6 separate regions of the Homo sapiens genome follow, and regions 2, 3, 4, 5 and 6 are each linked to region 1. Evidence: promoter capture Hi-C in 16 types of primary human blood cells and fetal thymus (Javierre and others, 2016). All regions are on one chromosome and are shown on one strand. The core of a region is centred on a gene start or on the middle of the fragment in contact, and the rest is flanking DNA. Distances in the headings are between cores, read along the strand shown.

Region 1 (3,795 bases), core at 445-2,944:
CTCTCACCATAGTGATCACCAGCCCAAAGTACACATGTCAGCCTGGGGACCTGCTTCAGAACTCATTTAGTAGGAGCTTGGTGCTGCTCCAATGCCTCAAAATGCAAAGGCAGACCTCACTCTAAGAGCATACACTCCCAAATGAAAGAGTCATTAAGAGAAACCTGTAAAAGTATTTCCCCAAAGTACCACAGTGTAGATGAGAAAGTTTATGCGACCACCTCCAGGAAAGAGTGTCACCAGGCCCCTGGGAAATTAACTACCACAGAAGGCAAGGGAGCTGGGTCATGGTCCACTGATGTGATTCAGAAAGGGCACCTGGCTGGGGCTGGAATTCCTGCTTGTGAAAGCCCAGGGCACGGCAGGGTTGGGCTGGGCTGGAAGGGAGGGGCAGCCAGGGTGAGTGCCAGTCGTTCCTAGGGTTCAGGCACAAGGTTCCTCACCTCCACTGTGGGGCTGACGCACTGTGCAAAGGTGAAAGAAAGCCAAACCTGAAATCGGCACAAAGGCAGCCACTCGTTGGAAAATCATTTTTAAAGGTCCCCCTGCCCGCCGGGATGAGGTGCTGTACACTATGGAGTGTCCTGAGCACATAAATGACTCTTATCACTTAGGATGCCCAGGAAAAAGTCAACAGACTCACATGCATCATGGTGACCAGGTGACAGGGGTTGAGCAGGTAGATGACGGTCTTGGTGGCGAACTTAAAGCCCACCTCCACCCCGAAGGTCAGGCACAGGGCTACTAAGAGCAGATTCTTGCTCAGGCTCTCCTTGCCTTCCTCTGGCCGCTGGGTCACCTGCTCTGGCTGGCTGCCAGGGCTACCCCTACCGTCCTCCTTCGTCTGCCTCAGGATGTGCCGCAGGGCCACCAGGATCTCCAACAGAGCCAGGGTCAGGACCACCACACTTTCCAGCAGCCGCTGCTGCCAAGAGAGGAAGGCAGCACAGTCGGGGCCCCCATTGCCTGCAAAACTGGGGTCCACGCCCCCATAGAGCCAGTCCAGGAGACTCTGGTAGCTATACCGGGACATGATGCAGTGGTTCCCCTTGACCACAGTACAGGAAGCAAGAGTGAGATGGAACACAAGCCCAGAGGGTTGCCCGGGTGGTGGACCATGTAAGGCGGGCACACCCCCACAACCCCCCTCCAGACACCAGGGCACCGAGAGTAGGGGAGGGGAAGCTACACGCAAGGCCCGGGGTAAAGTGCTGGCTCTAACTTGTCCCCACGGCTGTCTGGGGGAGCCCCCCGCGCTTCTCCAGTGGCCACCAACGAGGCAGGGTTGAAAGGAGCCGTTGGCCAATCTAAAAGGAAGGAGAGGAAAAAAAAAAAAAAGAGGTCTCAAAGAGGCAATTGCACCGGGAATTAGGAAGCGGGAGGGGTAACTAGCGAGGGAAGAAAACGGGAACGGGGCAGTGGCGAAGCAAGCAGGGGTCAGGGGAAGCCGGAGGCCGAAAGGGTCAGGGCGGGGGCCAAGGAGACCCGGCAGTGCTGCGGCAGCGAACCGGGAGCCAAAAGGGGTCAGAGCTAGGGGACACGCGGAGGCAAGGAGAGGAGCTAGCGGGGCCGAGCAGGCGGGGAGGGCGACGGGGATGGCAGGGACGCCGGACTCCTCGTCTCACGCACTCGCCACAGAGGGATCTCTTACTCCTGCAACCGCGTGGCCGTCTCTGCCCCCAGCTAGCAACTTCGCCGCCGACGGGCCCCTCCAGCCAATTTAGAGCCGTCCTTGTCCAGCCTCCCGCCCCCGGGTACACCCCCGAACCCCCAGCTCCACCCTCCGGCCCTAGACGCCCGCCCTCCGGGCAGCACCACCCCCAGCCCGCGGCCCGCCCGGGACCTGCCCCCCTCGCGCAGGCAGCGGAGGGAGGAAGCCAGAGGGAAGGCGGGAGGCCGGGCCAGCCGGGGGCTGGACTAAAGCCGGCCCCTGGACTAAAGCCGGCCCCCCTCCCTCCTCCCCGGCGCCGCAACCTCCCGCGCCTCCCGCCCAGCCCCGGGGACCGGCCGCCGCGCCCCTCGGGGCTTCACTCACCGGCAGCTCGGCCCGCGGCCCCGGATCGGGCTACTGCTCCGCTCCCGCGCTCTCCGCGCCGGGCGCTCGGTTCCCCTGGCGGCCGCCGCCGCGGCGCACGGCTCCTCCTCCCCGTCTTCCTCCCCCTGCAGCAGCCGCGCTCGCTTCCTCCTTCTTCCCCTCCCTCTCTCCTCCCCCTCCCCGCTGCCACCGCCACTGCCTCCCTCCTCCCGTCCAGTTCAGCTCTCGCCCCACCACACGCCCTCGGGCCACGACTACTCCTCCTCGCCTCCTTCCCTTTTCTGCCTCTGGCACTCCCCTCACCCGTCCACCATTCACACCTCCCACCCTCCGCGGCTTCGGCTCTCCCTCCTCCTCCTCCCTCCTCCTCCCTCCTCCGGCTCAGGCTCCGCCTCCTTCCGCCTCCTCCCTGGCCTGCCTCGTCTTCTGCACTCGGAGCCTGCACGCGTGCACAGCCACCCTCCTTCACAACCGTGTACAGAATTCGCCCCCTCGGTGAAGCCCTGTTGACTGGCTCCGCCTCCCGCGACCTGGTTCTCCAGGGCACTTCTTTCTATACTGCACACATAGTAGGCACTTAGCTGGCCCGCACTAACTTCTTGTGGGGGAATAAGCCTTTCTAGTAATGAGCAGCTTGGCTTCGGGGTGTGTGCTGGGTATGGCCGGCTCCTCTTCGCGATTCCTCCTTTCTGCCACGACTCATGCAAGGCCAGAAAGGCATCTTCTCTCCCCTTTCTAGCCACAGCCCCACTCCACACTTCAGTGCCTAGGACAGGAGCTTCATTTCCCTGCTCCTCCCCCTCCTGCTCTGATCCACTATTTTCTCTCTACCTCTTGCCACACAGACCACCCCTGCCACACCCTCTCCCTCTCCCACTTCTCTCCTTTCTCCTGACAGGCCTTCAATGGTAGGCCAGTGGGAGGAAGGGAGGCTTCCCGTGACCTCTTTCCCTCCCCCTCTTCCCCCCTTCCCCCTCCCCAGAGCAGTTGCTTCCTAACCTATGCGTGGAAAAGCCAGCCAGGACTATATGAGTGTGGAGGAGCAGCACTAAGCCCAAAACCTGGATAAGGGCAACTGACGGAAATAAAATCCCCTCTTCCTACCTGCTGCTTTTTACCGATCGGCTATTTGCTTTTCTTGAGACAAGGGTCAGTAAAAGGACCTTCTCAGGACCTTCCTCATGTTTATTTAATATTTATTGAAGACTCACGATGAGTTAGAAGAATATCCAGAAAAACACAGTTAGGCACCTTGCCTAGGAAACACTTTTGGATGTTGGCTGCAAGCCAGGCTCAAAACATAAAATGCAATCTACTGTATTATCAGGCCATCGCCCTCCCGTTTTTTCCAAGTCTGGTTTTCCGAACAAGTACAGCCAGGTAGCCTTGTCTGACTCCAAGTTTTGTACAACATCTACCATAGGCCTGATGTTCTCCAAGTGTCAGAGGCGTTAGAACCAGAGCGACTCCATCTTGAACAGGGCCTGGATAAAATGACGCTGAGACCTACTGAGCTGCATTCCCAAAAAGTTAGGCATTCCAAGTCACGGGATGAGATAGGAGGTCGGCACAAGATTATAGGTCACAAAGACCTTGCTGATAAAACAGGATGCAGTAAAGAAGCCGGCCAAACCCCACTAAAACCAAAAAGGTGATGACAGTTACCTCTGGTCGTCCCCACTGCTCATTATATGCAAATTATAACGCATTAGCATGCTAAAAGTCACTCCCACCAGCGTCCAGAAGTTACCCTATATGGT
Region 2 (3,795 bases), core at 841-3,340, 500 kb after region 1:
CTTCTTTCTATGATTTTGTCCCTCAACCTTCAACCCTAACTCAATTTAGTAGCCTGAGATCTTGCCTCTGTCTCCTCATCCCAGAAATACTCACGCTTTCTCAAATCAGAAAAATATCCTTTGGTGAATGCCTGGATGAATGTGAAGGTCTCCTCATGTGCATTTCTCCTTTCAAGGAAAGTAACATATCATGTCTTGCCTGTGTTGGTTGTTCTTCAGTATCTCTAAAGACTTTGTTTAAAAATGTATTTTGTATAATTTTTATAATTATTTTCAGAGGGAGACTTAGTCAGATAAATGCTACTCATTTGTAGTTAGAAGTAGAAGTCTTTTTTCCCGTCCAGTCTATGATTTTAAATGAAGAGGTTAGTCTATTATATTCATTATGGTTAGTGATATATTTGGATTTATTTATACATTTAACATTCATTTTTATCTTTTTCATTGTCGTTCTTTTGTTTCTCTTTCTTCACCTCATTTTTTGCTTCCTTTCAGATTGATATTTTTATGGATGTGTCTGTTTATCCCCAACAATTTTTTTCCTTTTTGACTTGAAAGTTATATGCTCTGTTTCCATTATTTTAGTTATATTCTCTTTTTCTATTTTAGAAATGTGCTGCATATTTAATAATGTTTAAATTAAATCATTATATTTGCCACCCTCCCAAACAATACAAGGACCATAGAACATTTTAATTCTGATCATTCCACTCTGACTTATATGTATTCATTGTCCAGCATTTTTTACTATATTTTTGATCCCATGAATTAGATATTGTTTCACATAGTCACTATTTTAGCTTACTCATGTATTTATCACATTATAAATGTTAGATCAAGGGGAGGAAATGTAAGATATATTGACAGAGGTTCACTCTCCCAAGATTCAGGATTGAATATGATAGTACTCAAGTACAGTCATGCTCTGCATCATGATGTTTTGGGCAATGACAAACCTCATATATGGTGGTGGTTCTATAAGATTATAATGGAAGCCAGGCATGGTGGCTCTCACCTGTAATCCCAGCACTTTTGGAGGCTGAGGCAGGAGGATCACTTGAGCTCAGGAGTTCAAGACCAGCCTGGGCAATATACTGGGACCCCATTCTCTACAAAAAATTAAAAAAAAATTATCCCGTCATGGTAGTGTGTGTCTGTAGTCCTGGCTACTCAGGAGAATGAGGTGGAAGTATCAATTGAGCCCAGGAGGTCGAGGCTGCAGTGAGCTGTGATCACACAACTGCACTCTAGCCTGGGTGATAGTGTGAGACTCTAAAAAAAAATTAAATAAAAATTATAATGGAACCAAAAATTCCTATCGCCCAGTGATGTTATAGCCATTGTAACATCATAATGTAGTTACCTTATTTATTTATTTTTTTTTACAAATTTAGTGTAGCCTAAGTGTACAGTGTTTATAAAGTCTACAGTAGTATACAGTAATGTCTTAGGCTGTCACATTCACTCAACATTCACTCACTGACTCACCCAGAACAACTTCCTTTCCTGCAAACTCCAGTCATGATAAGTGCCCTATACAGGTTTACCATATTTTATATTTTATATTGCACTTTTGCTGATGCTTTTCTAGGTTTAGATATGTTTTGATACAAAAATACTTACTATTATGTGTTACAGTTGCCTATAGGAATCAGTACTGTAATATGCAGGACAAGCGTGTAGCCTAAACAGTATGCTATCCCATGTACCCCAGGTGCGTAGTAGGCTATACATCTAGGTTTGAGTACGTACACTCTATGATGCTTGCACAATGATGAAATTGTCTGATAATGCATTTTTCAGAACATATCCCTGTCATTATGTGATGCATGACTGCACTTGGGATTGTCATTAGTGGTCCACCAGGATGACTAATCAAAGCTTAATCTCAGTATATCAATCATGGCCTAGTTAATAAGGCAAAAATATTTGAACATCCTGAATGCACTGTAGAAGGAGTCCATGATGTAGTGGAACTGGATTCTCTGATCATTTTGGGAATAATGGATTTTTGGAATTATAGAACACAGATGGTGACACCTAACCATTAGAAATAAGGGAATACAATTATCACAGTAAGCCACAGTGGCATAATGGCAACTCGAATATTCTGGAATGGAGAGAACTGTGGTAGCTAATTGGTAACAGATCCCTCAAAGTGAAATATATGGGCAGCCTATTAAAATGCTGCTTGTTTGATACATGTGGAAAAATTTTAGGTCTGTTGGACAAAAATCTAACTTGAATCAAAACAATGGCAATTCACAGCCTCTTGCCTAGTTCTTAGACTTAAGCTTGTTAATAGACTTGGAGCTTCTTAAATGGAGAGGTGGTTGCATCCTTTTGAAGAAGCACCCTATAATATGGCCATATGTATATACTGTCAATCTTACCCTAAGCTTTTCCCAAAGTGGCCTTCAGCCATGTACTAAGGGGACTGTGCAGTGGGGAAAGAAACATACCAGAATTTTAAAATTATCTATTATGTACTGGCTCTGATCCATTGGAACAAGGGATCCATTCAGTGGTTATTTCTATAGACATTAAACGTATAGTATGAACATATATACTTAGTAACTGGCAGAATCTCTACCTTGTCCCCACCTGAAGGATGAGGTCTCTTACGGTGGGCAGTGGCCAAGTAAAAGCCCTTGGAAATTCCCTTCATCCCACTCAAAGACAATAAACCAAAAGCAATACCATATCTCTGGAGGAACTGCAGAGATAAGACTAGAGAGATGCAGGGGTGATAACTTCTACCTCATCTCCATTTAACTCATCTAATTAACTGGTACAAAAGTGAGATAGGTTGTGGATAATGACAGCAAATTGTTACGGACTTATTCTGGTGATGATGCCAACCACAGCTCCAGTTCTGGATGTGGTATTTTTACTAAGGCAAATCAACACAGATTCTGGCCTGTTGTATACAGCTGTTGACTTGGAAATTGCTTCCTATTCCCATTCCTCTCAGTAATGAAAATCAGAAGTAGGGATGACTGTATTGTTTCCAGATCTATTCTAATTTTCCTATTCTTTATCATAATATAGTTGAGAGGGATCTTGTCCATCTTGATATCTCACAGATCATTATTGTTCTATTAAATTGACAATATTATGCTAATCAGATTTGATGATCAGGAAGTAGAAATAAAACTAGATACCTTAGTAAGATATGTTCATATATATGGTGGGACATAGTTCAAGATCCTCCCATGTAGATGAAGTTTCTAGGGGTCCCGTTTCAAGCATCTTGAGATATCCTTCTAAAAGGAAAGTTGCTGCACTTTACACGGCTCACCGTAAAGAAAAAGGCTTAATGTTTGGTGGGCCTTTTCAGATTTTGAAGGCAATATGCACTATATTTGAGCATGTTTAATTAGGTACTAAAGAAAGGCCCAGTGCAGAAAAGGGTCCCAACAGTGGGGCAAGCTGTGCTGCCACTTTGACCTTATGACTAGAAGAATAATAATAAGGACGAGTCTACAGAAGACAAAGTTTCTGAATGATGTCTCTGGAAATCTCCAATAAAAATATCACATTGCAGACCAAATGCTTGGAGTAAGTCCATGCTCTCCTTGACTGACAACAATTCTCTGTTTGAAAGTCAGCTCCTAGCTTGCTATTAGACCCTGGCAGGAACTGAATTCCTGACTACGTGACATAAGGAAACTATATGACCTGAACTTCTCCTTATAAACCGGGTGTGTTAACTGATTAACTGAATCATCAAATGAATATATTCATCAGTGTCCTGCTATAAAATTGAAGTGATATATACAAGACTGGGCACAA
Region 3 (3,795 bases), core at 637-3,136, 460 kb after region 1:
AAAAAGAAAGACAAATTTAAAAAAGGGAAATAATTCTGTTTCTAGATAAACATTTTATAGAAATGGATTAAAATATTACAGATGGTATATAAACATTTTTTGTAGTTCTACCTTCATCTCCACTCCCCTTGCTCCATCTCCACTGGAAACCCATGTGAACAAAACGTCTGTCTTATAATCTTGGCCTTAAATAAATATCACCTTACTCTTTATAAACTAGGCAGTAAAATATATTTTTTCATATTTCACTTTAGACACAATAAAACCTTCCACCCAATTAAGTTCTGCTTTCTGTATTCAAATGAATTAAATGATCACAAATTCCAAGCAAATGCAGCCCCAAGCCAGTTTTAGTGTGTCTTCCTTTTGTAATTATGAGAATTAACAAAGTTTTTGATCAAGCCCTACCTGTACCCTTTAATGCTAGTGGCTATATATATATATGAAACATTTAATATTTGCATGTGTTAGAAAGAATTAGTTCACTACTCCCACTTTTTAGAGAAGAGGTTTATGTTTTCTTAAAAATTATTCTGTTTTTTAAAAAAATTGAGACAGGGTCCTGCTCTGTTGCCTCAGGCTGGTCTCAAACTCTTGGGGTCAAGAAATCCTCTTGCCTCAGCCTCCCAAGTAGCTGGGGTTACAGGCATGTCATACCATGCTCGGCTATAGTACTACTCTATTAGTGTACTTAGTTCAAAAGAATCATGAGTACTTGCTAAAGCAGAGACTTCGATAAGTCAAATAAGTTAAGGCCCAAATGAGGCAGAAATTCCACAGTTAAAACTCTGGGGTCACAAGACACACTATTAGCTTAATTCTATAATGTAACTTGGGTTAAAAGGCCAGGCAGGCATGGTGGCTCACGCCTATAATACCAGCACTTTGGGAGGCTGAGGCGGGTGGATCATGAGGTAAGGAGTTCAAGACCAGCCTGGTCAAGATGGTGAAACCCCATCTCTACTAAAACTACAAAAATTAGCCGGGCGTGGTGGCAGTTGCCTGTAATCCCAGCTACTTGGGAGGCTGAGGCAGGAGAATCGCTTGAACCCGGGAGGCAGAGGTTGCAGTTAGCCAAGATCGCGCCACTGCACTCCAACCTGGGTGACAGAGTGAGACACCATCTCAAAAAAAAATAAATAAATAAAAATAAAAAAAAAGGTCAACACATATATTGACACTGGTAATAAACAATGTTGTCTTTTTTTTTCTACTTTATTTTTTGAAAGCAGTAAGGTACAATACACATTCAAGGCAAGGCACAATAAACATCCATTGTCACAACCCTTTTCCCTGACATCAAATATCAGTACAAGAAACTTCTTTTATCTTTTGCCTTAAAAAATTGGTTTTCACCTGACAAAAACAAGCAATGGGGAAAGGATTCCCTATTTAATAAATGGTGCTGGGAAAACTGGCTAGTCATATGCAGAAAACTGAAACTGGACCCCTTCCTTACACTTTATACAAAAATTAACTCAAGATGGATTAAACACTTAAACGTAACACCCAAAACCATAAACCTAGGCAATATCATTCAGGACACAGGCATGGGCAAAGAGTTCATGACTAAAACACCAAAAGCAATGGCAATAAAAACCAAAATTGACAAATGGGATCTAATTAAACTAAACAGCTTCTGCACAGCAAAAGAAACTATCATCAGAGTGAACAGGCAGCCTACAGAATGGGAAAAAATTTTTGCAATCTATTAATTTCCAAATCTACAGGAACTTAAACAAATTTACAAGAAAAAACAACCCCATCAAAAAGTGGGCAAAGGATATGAACAGACACTTCTCAAAAGAAGAAGTGGCCAGCAAACATATGAAAAAATCCTCATCATCACTGGTCATTAGAGAAGTGCAAATCAAAACCACAATGAGATACCATCTCACGCCAGTCAGAATGGCAATCATTAAAAAGTCAGGAAACAACAGATGCTGGAGAGGATGTGGAGAAATAGGAATGCTTTTACACTGTGGGTGGGAATGTAAATTAGTTCAACCATTATAGAAGACAGTGTGGCCATTTTTCAAGGAACTAGAACCAGAAATACCATTTGACCCAGCAATCCCATTACTGGGTATATACCCAAAGTATTATAAATGATTCTACTATAAAGACACATGCACACATATGTTTATTGTGGCACTATTCACAATAGCAAAGACTTGGAACCAACCCAAATGCCCATCAATGTTAGACTGGATAAAGAAAATGTGGCACATATACACCATGGAATACTATGCAGCCATAAAAAAGGATGAGTTCCTGTTCTTTGCAGGGACATGGATGAAGTTGGAAACCATCATTCTCAGCAAACTAACACAGGGACAGAAAACCAAACACAGTTATGTTTTCACTCATAAGTAGGAGTTGAATAATGAGAACACATGGACACAGGGAAGGGAACATCACACACCTGGGCCTGTCAGGGGGTGGGGGGCTAGAGGAGGGATAGCATTAGGAGAAATACCTAATGTAGATGACGGGTTGATGGGTGCAGCAAACCACCTTGGCACGTGTATACCTATGTAACAAACCTGCACATTCTGCACATGTATCCCAGAACTTAAAGTATATATATATATAAAATCCTATGCTTAATAAATGGGTTTTATATAAAAAATAGGTTTTTAGAGATAGGGTATTAACTTTTGCAGCTGCAGGACAGAAGTAGTTCTCCAAAGCACAGTTCTATGCTGGTAAGAGACCTAGGCAAGACTCACTTGACCACATACTGACATAATTACGTAAAAGATATGGTGCAGGGATAAGTTGCAATGAAAAAGCTGATGAAATCTCGGTCTGTTGAGGACTTAATATTATCCATGCTACATGCATACTTTTTGTGGGTGTAAGCTATACTTTTGAGCCATGATCAGAAATTATCTATAAATATATGAAATAAAAGGGGCGAATCAGGAAATATTCCCCGTAATGACCCACCCCTTCATTAGCACTAATAATACCTTAACCATATTGGTTAATTGATGGAACTAAGAAAAGGAAACATATTTAAGAAAATATGCTGGGCCTAATGTTAAGTGCGGTATTTTAATTAATTCATACTTACCAACCTGAAAATAAAATGAGGTTAAGGGAAAATGGCAACTTGCTCCAGGTCAAAGAACTAGGTAAAAGTAAACCTGGGATATGATTCCAGAGCCCATGTTCCCACTAATGCCATACCAATCCTTCCCTGAGCAATTTGCTTTTAAAGAGTAAATCCACAGTTACCACTTATGCAAGTCAGATGAAACGCTGGCTCCAGACACAACCTGGTATTTAATAAAGAGTAGTAGTCTATAAAGAGTAGTAGAGTCTATAACACTCACCCGTCTTCTTTTATCCATTGTCTCATAGTAAATATTGACAAACTCCTCAGCAGCTCTACATGCCTGATCTACATAAGTTTTAAAATCCTACAAGAAAAATTCCAGAAGTATAGATTACCAACCTTTTCAACCCCTCACAAACACAAAACCACTGACAGAAGCTGATGATTTATTTCAACCACTATGTAGCTCTATATACAGTCCACATTCTTTCATATAAATTCAGACATTTTAAAGGCCGGACTCTGAAGTTTGCAATTTTAAAATTTTTCACTAATTTTAAGTGCATGTCTTTAGGACATAATCTTCTCAATGAATCTGAGTCTTTTTCAGTCTCCACATATAAATTTATAATCTTTTCTTGGCAACTAAGCACTTTAGACTTTCAATATTTTACAAACATTCACGGCAATGAAAATGACACCACCTGAACCTTAGAAAAGGAGAGAGAGCG
Region 4 (3,795 bases), core at 833-3,332, 410 kb before region 1:
ATGACACAGTTCTGCCATAATTTTTCCCTCAGCAACCATATGTCTGGCAAGAACCTCAGGAAGAAAATATTTTCCAGATGGTTTTGCTTATGTCAGCCTACTATGTGCCAAGCACCACTCTAGAGGAGAGGGACACATTGCTGAGTGACACAGACAAGGTCCCTGTCCTCTTGGAGCTTACATTCCAGTGGGAGAGACATACCATAAATAGACAAATATAAATAGACATAATTACCCAGAGCAGTAAATGGGGTTAAGGAAGCATTGCTAATAAAAGAAATGTAAGAGAGGAACAGGAGGCATCTAACTGTGGGTGGTCAGAGAAGGCTCTTCTCAGGAGGTAACGTTAAGCTGAGACTGAAAGGTTAGGAAGGAGCCTTCCATGCCAAAAGCAAGAGGAAGGGCAGTCCAGGCAGGAGCACGAACAAAGGCCCTGGGGCGAGAAAAGACCGAGAATGTTGCAGAAATTGAAAGACCAGTGTGGCTGAGACACAGAGCCCTAGGAGGGAGGTAAAGCCGGCAGGATTAGTACATGCATTTTGAAGCTGAGGAAATGGAAAGCCCAGAGAGATGAATGGACTTACCCACAATGCCTTGCACAAGGTAGGCGCTCCATATGTTGTAGAATTCACAGTCAGTAGGGCGGGGCTGAGGCCCTTTGCCTTCCAAATCGGACTGAGATTTCCCACCACAACTAGGAATCAGCTACCCAGGGAGACTGAAACATACAGTCGTTTTTGTTGGTGAGTCATAGGCAATGCACATTAGAGTGTGGGGTCGAGTGGCCCCAGCTGCTGCCTGTGTGTGTAAAGGGCGGGGGTGGGCTCAGGCCGCGGCTGAAGCTTTTTAGCATGTTTATGATGAGCTGAAAGAACTCACTGCTTAATTTAAAATACGGCTCACACATACACATACAATTCAGCAGCTGGAGGAGCTGCCAGGAAATGAGAATAAGTGTAGAAAATTGGAGGATCAGGAATATCAGGTATTCGGCTCCGTTTCCCAGCTCCCATGCGCTGTCTCTGATCCCATAAGGTCCCATCTTCCCTAACAAACTCTGGGAGGTCAAGACATGGTTGGAGACCGTGGCAGTTTGGGGAAGGGAGGCCTGGCCAGAGCCCTTAATGCTAGCTACACTGATTGCCCCACCCGGCCTTAAGCTTGCCGGCCTTCCTCTCGTTCATGTTCCTTGAAATCTGACGGCTGGAAAAACTCATTTGGCCCTGATCACTAACTGCCTATGCTAGCTGCTGCTTTTCCTGATTGTGTGTATCTTGCCTCCTCAACCACACGGGGGCCATCGGCACACACTTGAGGAATTGAGTTGTTTTCTTTTGTATTCACCGCAGCTCTCAGCACAGTAGAATTTACACAGTGAGAGACTCGAGTGTGTTTGCTCATGGGTTGCAAGATAGTATCATTTGAAAAGCCTTTGGGGCAGAGTACCTGCTCTTAATTAAAAAAATAAGAACCTCAACTTGACAAAAATGTGTTAGACCATCAGGCGTATCTCTGGTTTCCTTCACATTGTTCCTCTACACCCAGAGTCCCCGGCCTGCATGCCGGATGAACCTACAGCCTCTCAATCAAAATGCTCCACAAGTCATCTCTTTGGGTTCTTTGCTCAGAATATCCCTTCTGACTGGGATGCCCTCTCTCCCAACTCTACCAATCATAACCCCATCTCACCCTTCAAGGCCAAATGTAAATGCCATCTCTGGCATGAAGCTTTTGCAGGCACAATTCATTGCTCTTGCCCCTGAACATGGCACCCTGTGTCTACCTCTTTTATGGTACAGGCTGGTGGACTGGAATGACCTGGTTTCAAATTCCAACTCCATCACTTCCCAAGGCTACCTCCGTTTTCTCTTCTAGAAAAAGGGATAACAACATCAGCCTCAATGGGATGTTGGAAGTTGCCAGTAAAATAATATCTGCAGCCTGCATAGCACAAGACTTGGCCTCCAGAGCTCAGTAAGTGTTTTTTGTCATCATCATCATCTTCATCACCTCTGGGGAGCAGAAGAATGTAATAGTTCCAGAACTGGTTTGGTCCATTCTTAAAAATGTGACCTTGGGCCAGTCTCTTCCACTCTGAGGCTCTGTTTCCTCATGTGTATAAAATGAAGTGATAATAGTTTACCCACCTCCATCACAAAACCTGCTGGGAAGATGCAAAGACATAATAATGTAGGCAAGGTAAACTGCTAAGCACAGGGCTTATCGCATAAAAAAAAAATGCTCATTTGCGTCTGCACACCCCTACAACCTAGAAAACTCCTTTAAGGGCACAGACAATATTTTACTTATCTTTGCATCTCTTGCTGCCTAGCCTAGCCCAGAACCTCTGCAGCTGGCAGACCCACAATAAATCATTGTTGAATTGAATTGAAAACCCAAACCAGATGTGCCTCCTCCCCTGTCAAATGAAGCTTTCAAGCTGGCAGGTTGGGCCTGCTGCCTCTTCACTCCCCCTCCCTCCAAGCTGAGCAGCCGCCATTGTCTAGGCCTGGCTCTGGGGAATGAGGCAGTGCCTGCCGAGAGGAGGGATTCAGAGTGGGTAAGGATAGATGGCACTAGGTGGGATGAGTGCGGTAGGGAAGAGCACTCTGTCTGTTCCTGATGACCCCAAACAGACTGCCTTTGAAGGGGGCTATCCTGAAGTCTCTGTCGAATGAAAAGTAGTGACAGTCCAAAAGCCCTTCGCCACCCAGCGCCTAGCTGTGGAGGAAACCCAGCTCTCCCCCAAAAACCGAAAATTGGAAGTAAATGAAGATATCGGGAGAAAGCTTCCTCTTCCTTTAGCAAAGATAGTGATACAGACATTCAGAGAGGTTCAGCTCTGAAATCATAAGGCCAGGATTTGAAGCTGAGTTCACTGGCACCATGGGCATGCTCTAACCACTGGGCCACCTTGCCTCTAAGCTAGTCTTGCTATAGAAGGACAGGAGTATGTTTTCACCCTTCCCACCAACCCCACAGGACGCTTAGAAGCAGAGCGTATGGCTTTAATGGTGGAAAATACTTTAAAAAGTACAAATCTGTTACAAAACTACAAAAAGAGGCCCATGTCTTCAGTGTTTCTGAGCCAGAGCTATGCAGACAGGGCACAGGGGGTAGCATGCTAACCAGCACAGAGTCAAGGTAATGGGCCACACACCTGAACATGGCCACTTGGATTGTAACTCTAGCTCTGTCACATGCTAGCCTGAGTGACCCCGGGCAAGTGATTCAACACCCCTGTGCCTCCATTTTCCCACCTGTCATATGATATTAATAATAGTACCTCCTCACAGGGTTGTCTATGAGAAGTAAATAATCTAACATTTTTAAAGCAGTTACCATGTGCCCGGGACATGGTAAACATTAAACAACGGTTCGTTAAATCAAAATAAATACATACCTCTGTCCCTTTGTAGCCAGACTAGTCTAGAGGCACTGTTGCCAAATGGTTAGTGTGTGCCCATGGAACCAGCTGAACTCGGCTTCAAATCCTGGTCTCATGATTTCAGAGCTGAGCCTCTATGAAACTCAGTTTGACCATCTCTACCATGAGAACAATAACAGTCCCTTACCCACAGGCTGTTGAGAGTTTTAAATGAGATATCTCCAAAGTCCAGAACACAGTGCCTTGCCACGGCAGAGTGAGTAAGCACCCAATTAAGGCAGAGTGTTAATCATCTGAGTCTGCTTCCCATTTTTTTTTTTTTTTTGCCTCTTCTGGGTTAAGTTAACCCACGATATATAGTTTTGGAAGTCTTGCAGCAGTAAAGGGAACAATTTCATCATTTTGCC
Region 5 (3,795 bases), core at 905-3,404, 370 kb after region 1:
AAAACTTTAGGAGTTTCTCTTTTACAAGTTTTAAAGACAGACTGAGCACTGGACTTTTCTTAGGTAGCAAAGCCATTTTTGTTTTAAAACCCTGTGAAGTTCCAATACTCTTAGATTTCCTTTGTCTTAAAACATGGCACTTAAATGCTTCTGGCCCTTCTTGTGTAGTATTGCTAGGTGTTATGAAGATACAAAAAAGTTCTTGTGCTATTAGCACATGATGTCAGACCATGAGGGTGAATGAGAAGCTGAACTGTGAGCTGAAGATTCTACATATGTAGGAATCTGGAAAAGACAAAGAGTCTTTCAGGATTCAGTTGCCTGAGAAGGCCTCCAGTCTGAGCCTACTACTGAAGAGGTGAGAGTGACTTTTACCAAATTCCAGATAATAACAAGGAGCATGCATTCATTCAAAGCAGCATCCTCTCTGCCCACTGCACCATGAAATTCCTGTTGCTTTCACCCCATGTAGTCCTTGAAGGCCCTATCGGTCCTCATGGACTACATGGGGTGAAAGCAACAGGAATTTCACGGGTTATAGCTTGAGGTTCTATACCAGAGATCTCCAAGAGATTCCTCATGCACCTAAGATATTGATGCCTTCTGCCTTTGGGGTGGCCAGAGCTCCCTGGCAGGTTGCTTTTTTATCCATTTATCCCAGGGAGCCAATATATGTTATCTATGTGTGCTATGTGGTAAAAACTGTTAGAAAGCACCATTTCAGATGTATCCCTCTTCTTGGAGAGCTTTGGTAGCACATGGTCTCAATGATTTGTTTTCCTGTTTGTAGTCCAAGTTACACAGGCTCTGTCAAAGTAGAAACTGTGTCTGTCTCATATGCTGTTATAGATCTAGTGCCTGCCACTGTGCCTAGCACATAGTACATGCTCAGAAAATATTTCATGAATGAATGAATGAGGAAGTCTAGGCCTTGAAGGATGAGTAAAATTTGGATAACCTGGAAGGGTTAAGGGTTTGCAAGGGTGATGAGCAATAGGAATAGAGTCAAATATGTTTGTGGTGTATGCCAGGCACAATTTGGAGGCAATGAGAAATTATCAGATCCCATCATGCCTATTTAACATAATGCTGAGTGAATAAAGAGCCACTGAAGCATCATTGCTGACAAGCAAAGTAGAAATTAGAACAAACAGGTGGTAATCGACACAACCATGTTTCTCTTAGCATCTAATTTCAAGTCAAACTCTGTGTGTCCACTATGGAAACAATGTCTCACGTGGTCAGGGGACTAATTCCAATAATTCCTAAATGTTCCCATACCATCTTGTAGCTTAGAAGCCCTCGCTGCAATCCCTGGTACCCCAGAGGCAAAGGAACACTATGCTGTCATCCTTCACAATGTGGGATTAGAGGAGTAAACCCTGTTGTTACAGGCATTGTTTTCCACATGGAGAAATGATCCTAGTGACTATTTCATACTCAAAACTTATGTCAGGTGTCACATCCTTAGGGAAATGTGCCCTGAGCTCTCTGAGGTTGAGTCAAATGCTCCTCTCTGGTTCCCACTGCACCATACGTTTAATGTTAATGAAACAACCACAGCCAACATTATTGAGCATTTCACATGTTCCAGGCATTATGTTCAGTACTTTACATAAGTTATCTTATTCAATCCTTGCCACAAAATCCTATGGTAAGCGCATGGTTATTATCTCCATTTTACAATCGAGGAAACTGGAGCAAAGATAAAATGGGTGCAGCAAATCAACATGGCACATGTATACCTATGTAACAAACCTGCACATTGTGCACATGTACCCCAGAACTTAAAGTATATATAAAAACCTAAAAATAAATAAATAAAGACATATGAATTAAAAGAAAAGAAAAACATTCTGAATGAGGAGAAATGAAAACTCCAGTCCTCCACCAGATGGTGCTGTGGGAGTCCAAAAGAAAAGTGCCCTCGGACCTCTTCCTTTCCCACTCCTTTCCCAAGAATACTCCAAATATCCGCATTTTTGTTTCTTTGTTTTTCTTTTTTCTTTTCCAGAGAAGCCTGAGTGGGTGGGAGAAACATTTTCAAGATAATGTTTAGGCAGGAATTGACATGAGTTTGATAATTTTATTTATGACTTTATGTTTTGGCCCAAAAGGCAAGATTGACCTTATTTCACTCCACCCTTTTAGATTCATGTACTTATTTCAAAGATCTCAAAGTGGTTTTTGCACCCTTGTCACCATTACAAAGCTGGAAATAAAATCTGAATTGCCCAAAGCATTGGAGGAGGCCGTGCAGTGGAGTGAAAACGTCTCCTGACTGCGAGGCAGTCTGATGGCTCTGCCATTAACTAATGAGAGACTTCAGGCAAGTCCCTTCTCCTCTCTGGACCTCAGTAGCTCCGCCTTTACAATAAGAGGGTTAGATGAGACTTCCAACCCTGAAATGTTTTATTTTCCCTGATAGTTTCTATACAAAGGACAGTAGACAATAAAAAAGATAACTGACCTCTGGTTCAAATCTCAGCTTGACCACCTATGAGCCAATCGAATTTGGACAAGTTACTTAACCTCTCTGCAACTTAATTTCCTCATCTGTATAATAGGAATACTGTTTTACCTACCTCAGAGGGTTGTTGTTAAGGATTAGGTGAGATAATGTATGTAAAGTGTTTAACACAGTGTTTGTCACTTTCAGTAAAAGCTATTATCACATAGAGCTTACCCTCACAATGTAGCAATTTCCTAGAGCTTGGGTGTTCATTTAGTAGTCATCAAAATTGGGGGAAGTTTTAAGTACTAAGCCACAAACAGTCAGGCTTGGCCCTTTTATAAGTATAATGATAAATGCATTTCATGGGTGCACTGCAAGGCTAAGTATGCAATTGAAGCAGAGAGCTGCACAAGTAACCATAAACAATGGGAATCCTCTCACACTGTTGGTGGGAGTCTAAAATGATACAAGCCACTTTGGGAAAATGTCTGGCAATTTCTTATAAAACTAAAGTACATCTTTCCCATGACCCAGCATTTCCACACCTAGGTATTTACCCAAGAAAAAGGAAAACATATGTCCACAAAAGGAATTATATGAGAACATTTAGAGCAGCTTTATTTTTAATAGCCAGAAGTTGGAAACAGACCAAGTGTTCATCAGTAGGAGAATGGATAAACAAACTGTGGTATGGTCACACAGTGGAGTACCACTCAGTAATAAAAAGGAACAAACTACTGATACTCGCAACAGCATGTGTCATGATTTATGTATCATATATGTGAATTATGTATCATTATGTATCATGTATTAGCATGAGCCTCAAAAACATTAAGCTGAGTAAAGTAAGTCTTATTCAAAAAAGTCCATGCCTTATGATTCCATATATATGAGCTTCTATAACAGGCAAAACTAATCAATGACGGAAAAAAAACAGTGGCTGCCTCTGGGAGTGAAGGGAGAGGATTGCCTATGAAAGGATGAGAGGACATGTTCTTGAGTAGTAGTCTTTATCTTAGTAGGGGTTACATTTACCAAAACTCAGAAAATATGCAGTTAATATTTATATATCTCATTGTATGTATATTTTACTTCAAAAGGAAAAAAGAATAATAAACAAATATTGGACTATAGTTAATGATAGGTATGGAGAAAGTGCTTAGGAGTGAAGTGCATACTGATGTATGCAACTTCAAAAAAAAAAAAGATAATGAATAGACAAATAGATAGAGGGAGGAGTGGATAGGTGAGGGATGAATAAAGCCAGTATAGGAAAATATTAGTGGTAGAATCTAGGTGGTTACTAGATATCCTCTGTAAAATTCTGTCAATGTCGCTAT
Region 6 (3,795 bases), core at 348-2,847, 300 kb after region 1:
AACTGGTAACTCCAGCTGGTACTTTGAGAATTGTCTAAACGGACCATATTTTAACTCTAAGGGTCTATGTTTCTAAAAATATATTTTTCCTTTCTGAAATACTTTTATCAGTCTCTAATGTAGAGGAAAGTGCTATTTTTTTCTCCTAAAGTTGTAATTCCATATGTACTTTCTGCTCATTACGTTAGGCATTTCTCTGTGTGTAAGACTTATGTTTTTGCCATTTTAAAAAACAAAAACAAAACATACATTCTGGCAAAAATTGTACAAATTTTGTGGGAAGTCTTGATTGTTACACAAGAGTACTTTCTGGTTAAGAACACTTAAGGTAACAATCACTTTCTTCAAGTATTGTTCAGGTCTGTAGTATTTTAATGAATGCCTTGTAAATTCAGATTCATCCATGTATCAACACACTTCTTGACTAAACTTGGAAAGGAGAGTTGTGGTAAGGTCAGTGTTTGCTGTTATGTAATCTGTTTGTCCAAAATATTTAAAAATCAGTATCGTAAGATTCTTAATTCAGAGTCAAGAATTATCAGTGTGACAGCAATTTTCATATGTTGAAAGTTTTTTCCCCAGTAGTTGTTTCATGATAATCAAGCTGTTTCTTAGGTGTGGACCTCAAAAAGTATTATCAGTTGATTTTTATGACTTTGAAAAATTCTAATTTAAATGCAATTGATATATTGAGAGCTCATAAACAGAATGTGCTTTCCCTGTTGATACTGCTGCTAATTTAATTCTAGGTAACTGAAGGAAAAGGAATGGTGTGCATTCTTGTTGTTTTTTCATACTCTCACATTCATCTTTTATCTAGTCTCAAGATGATCTTAAGAGTAAAGCTGTAATTATAACTGATTAGAAAGAATTTCCTAACTTTAGTATAGAGGGAAGCACATAGGGTGCTTTCTTAATGTTCTAGAAAGCAGACCCTATTTTAGCTTCTTAGTCATGGAGTGGGGGGAACTGTTTCTTTCTTTTTAAAATTATTTTACAGTTATCATTGTATTCAATTTTTAAAATTCTTACAACCTCTGTGAAGAAGGTAAAGAGTAGATGAATAAATTTTAATGTCAACCTAGAACTTCACTCCATAATTTATTTGTGTTATAGTAAGTTATTTTAAGCTAGTATATACCCCTATTCAAAAGTCAAGATTTAAACATTGTTGCTAAAAAGTAAATGGGGCCTGGCGCCATGGCTTACGCCTGTAATCCTAGCACTTTGGGAGGCTGAGACGGGTGGATCACCTGAGGTCGGGAGTTTGAGACCAGCCTGACCAACATGGAGAAACCCCGTCTCTACTAAAAATACAAAATTAGCCAGGCATGGTGGTGCATGCCTGTAATCCTAGCTACACGGGAGGCTGAGGCAGGAGAATCGCTTGAACCCGGGAGGTGGAGGTTGTGGTGAGCCAAGATCGTGCCATTGCACTCCAGCCTGGGCAACAAAAGCAAAACTCCACCTCTCAAAGGAACTTTCTGGCATTTAAAAAAGCTTTCCTTGGATCAGATATTGAAAATCCCTCTAGTGTTTTAATAGCTTCTATTTGTCACTAAATATGAAGGATGGGTGGGTTTGTGGTTAAAAAAATAAATAGCAACAATTTCCCAAAAGGTACATATTTAAACTGAATTTCAAAGCCGAGATAAAAAGTATGGTTCAGAAACCGGAGATTTCAGTTAAGCTTCAGGTAAAGGAAGCAAATAGGCAGAATAAACCACACAGACAAAATGTCAAACCAGGCAATGTTTGTCTTTGAGCATCTTCCATTTCTTATTTTAGTAGGCATCTCACTGGTTCCCTGTGTCTTTTATCCTGCTCTCTGTCACTGGTAGCAGAACAAGCTAAACTTCCTTAAGCAAAACTGTCCTAAGAAATGTACACTGCAGAGACTTCCTAAAGAGAGATGGATGGATTCATTTGGAAACATCTGTGTGCACACTCTAATTTGTATTCATTTTTCCCTAGAGAATGATTACACCTATATAATTAAAAAGTTGCCTTTGAAAACTATTGGCACCAAAAATGGACAATAATTAATGACCCATCCCTCATTTTTTAAAACCATTTTATTGTGGTAGGATTGACATACAAAAAGCTGTAAAGATGGAATGTATACAACTCAATGAGTTCGGAGAGAATCATCACCACAATCTATGCCATAAACCCATCCATCACTTCCAAAAGTTTCCTCCTGCCCTCTTATGTATTGTTATTTGTGTGTGTGTGTGTGTGTGTGAGAGAGAGAGAGATGAAAACACTTAAAATAAGATATACCCTATTAGCAAATTTTAAAATACACAATGCAGTATTGTTAACTATAGGCACCATGCTGTACAGTAGATCTCTGGGACTTCTTCATCTTTCATAACTGAAACTTTGTATCATTTGACTAATACCATCCTGTTTCTCCCTCTACCCAGCCCCTGGTCACCACCATTCTGCTCTCTGCTTCTATGAGTTTGACTCTTTTTAGTTTCCTTTTATAAATGGTGTAATGTAGTATTTGTCCTTCTGTGTCTAGCTTATTTCACTTAGCATAGTGTCCTCCAGGTTTGCCCAAGAGAAGTGTTTCTTTTTTAGAGACAAGCTCATTATCTTTACTTTAAAGCCTATTTTGGTTCTGAGAGTCTACAACTTGGTATGTAAGGAGTGAAATTTGTGTGCTTGCAGTTCATTAGGCACTTGATAGATCTACATCGTATTTATATATCTTCATACTAATCATGGGGGAGAATTTATGTAACAAAATGAATGATAATAGAATTATTAGCTAAGATTGGACTATTTCTCTTGGCATTCAAACTAGACTCTGTCTTTGAGTTTAGATGAAGAGAATGGGTCTAAGATAAATAAGCATTGCTTATTTGCTGTAATGTTTACCTTATTTAAGTAAGAAAAATAAAAATAAACATTGCTTCAAAATGGATAAAGTGAAAACTATCAGAATACTGCATATTTATCTATGCAAGGAAATATGACTGTTGTCATGGATATGCAGTTTGGTATCTCAAGCAAGAAGGTATCAGAGAATGTGAATATGGCATAGTTTATAAGATCTGTGACCTAATAATCATACTTCTAAGAAATGCGAGGGAATAATTTTATAGTCTTGAAGTGGGAAAATGACCCAGAAGCCATAAAGGAGATATATTTTACTACTTAAAACTAAAAAACAAACAGCCAACAACAACAAAAAAACCCCACAATATTTATCTAATATGTCTAAGAAATTCAGACATAGTGAATTTTTTTTTTTTTATTTGAGATGGAGTCTCGCTCTGCAGTGGTGCAATCTCGGCTCACTGCAACCTCCACCTCCCAGATTCAACCAATTCTCCTGCCTCAGCCTCCCGAATAGCTGGGATTACAGGTGCCTGCCACCACACCTGGCTAATGTTTGTATTTTTGCTAGAGACAGGGTTTCACCATGTTGGCCAGGCTGACCTCGAACTCCTGACCTCAAGTGTTCTGCCCACCTCGACCTCCCAAAGTGCTGGGATTACAGGCGTGAGCCACCATACCCAGCCAGTGAAATATTTTCATATGTTCATTAGCTAATAGTGAAAAGCAAAAAATTAAGACAGTGTTTTTGGTATCTATCAAACAGTTCAATCCAGTATTGGAGGAGATATGGGGAAATGGGCATATTAATATACTGCCGGTGGGAATATGAAACTATATTCTTTTTTAGAGGGCATTTTTACTTTTTTAAAAAAAATAAATTTTAGACTCACAATAGAGTTGCAAAAATCATACACCATTTCCATGGGTCCTTTACCCAATTTC

Evidence for each region. The method cuts DNA at HindIII sites, captures the fragments that hold promoters and counts their contacts. A CHiCAGO score of 5 or more calls a contact.
Region 2: a fragment that was not itself captured here is called in contact with the fragment with the promoter of TMEM164 in region 1 in 1 of 17 cell types (neutrophils); the score reaches 5.1 in neutrophils.
Region 3: a fragment that was not itself captured here is called in contact with the fragment with the promoter of TMEM164 in region 1 in 1 of 17 cell types (non-activated CD4 T cells); the score reaches 6.6 in non-activated CD4 T cells.
Region 4: a fragment that was not itself captured here is called in contact with the fragment with the promoter of TMEM164 in region 1 in 2 of 17 cell types (naive B cells and M2 macrophages); the score reaches 7.3 in naive B cells.
Region 5: a contact is called between a fragment that was not itself captured here and the fragment with the promoter of TMEM164 in region 1, in 1 of 17 cell types (neutrophils). The highest score is 7.4, in neutrophils.
Region 6: a fragment that was not itself captured here is called in contact with the fragment with the promoter of TMEM164 in region 1 in 5 of 17 cell types (total B cells, naive B cells, neutrophils and 2 more); the score reaches 7.4 in total B cells.

Annotation. Positions count from the first base shown.
Region 1 is chrX:110,001,013-110,004,807 of GRCh38, reverse strand. It overlaps TMEM164 (transmembrane protein 164), which reads right to left and starts at 1,694. Exons shown (of 7, transcript NM_032227.4): 1 at 1,630-1,694; 2 at 644-1,307. The coding sequence starts at 1,033. RefSeq lists an enhancer at 832-1,487 and a silencer at 1,590-2,449. The HindIII fragment of the contact is 10,429 bases long and covers 1-3,795 here.
Region 2 is chrX:109,503,394-109,507,188 of GRCh38, reverse strand. No RefSeq gene overlaps it. Among named protein-coding and RNA genes, the nearest start is that of GUCY2F, 23 kb to the right of the region's middle. The HindIII fragment of the contact is 413 bases long and covers 1,884-2,296 here.
Region 3 is chrX:109,537,678-109,541,472 of GRCh38, reverse strand. It overlaps NXT2 (nuclear transport factor 2 like export factor 2), which reads right to left. Exons shown (of 4, transcript NM_001242617.2): 2 at 3,342-3,428. Among named protein-coding and RNA genes, the nearest start is that of NXT2, 2.7 kb to the right of the region's middle. The HindIII fragment of the contact is 7,526 bases long and covers 1-3,795 here.
Region 4 is chrX:110,415,925-110,419,719 of GRCh38, reverse strand. All of the region lies in intron 1 of RTL9 (retrotransposon Gag like 9), which reads right to left. It also overlaps a transcript of AMMECR1 not described here. Among named protein-coding and RNA genes, the nearest start is that of RTL9, 59 kb to the right of the region's middle. RefSeq lists an enhancer at 892-1,392. The HindIII fragment of the contact is 704 bases long and covers 1,731-2,434 here.
Region 5 is chrX:109,631,207-109,635,001 of GRCh38, reverse strand. No RefSeq gene overlaps it. Among named protein-coding and RNA genes, the nearest start is that of KCNE5, 7.9 kb to the right of the region's middle. The HindIII fragment of the contact is 5,756 bases long and covers 1-3,795 here.
Region 6 is chrX:109,703,391-109,707,185 of GRCh38, reverse strand. The region is part of intron 1 of ACSL4 (acyl-CoA synthetase long chain family member 4); the gene reads left to right. Among named protein-coding and RNA genes, the nearest start is that of ACSL4, 28 kb to the left of the region's middle. The HindIII fragment of the contact is 190 bases long and covers 1,503-1,692 here.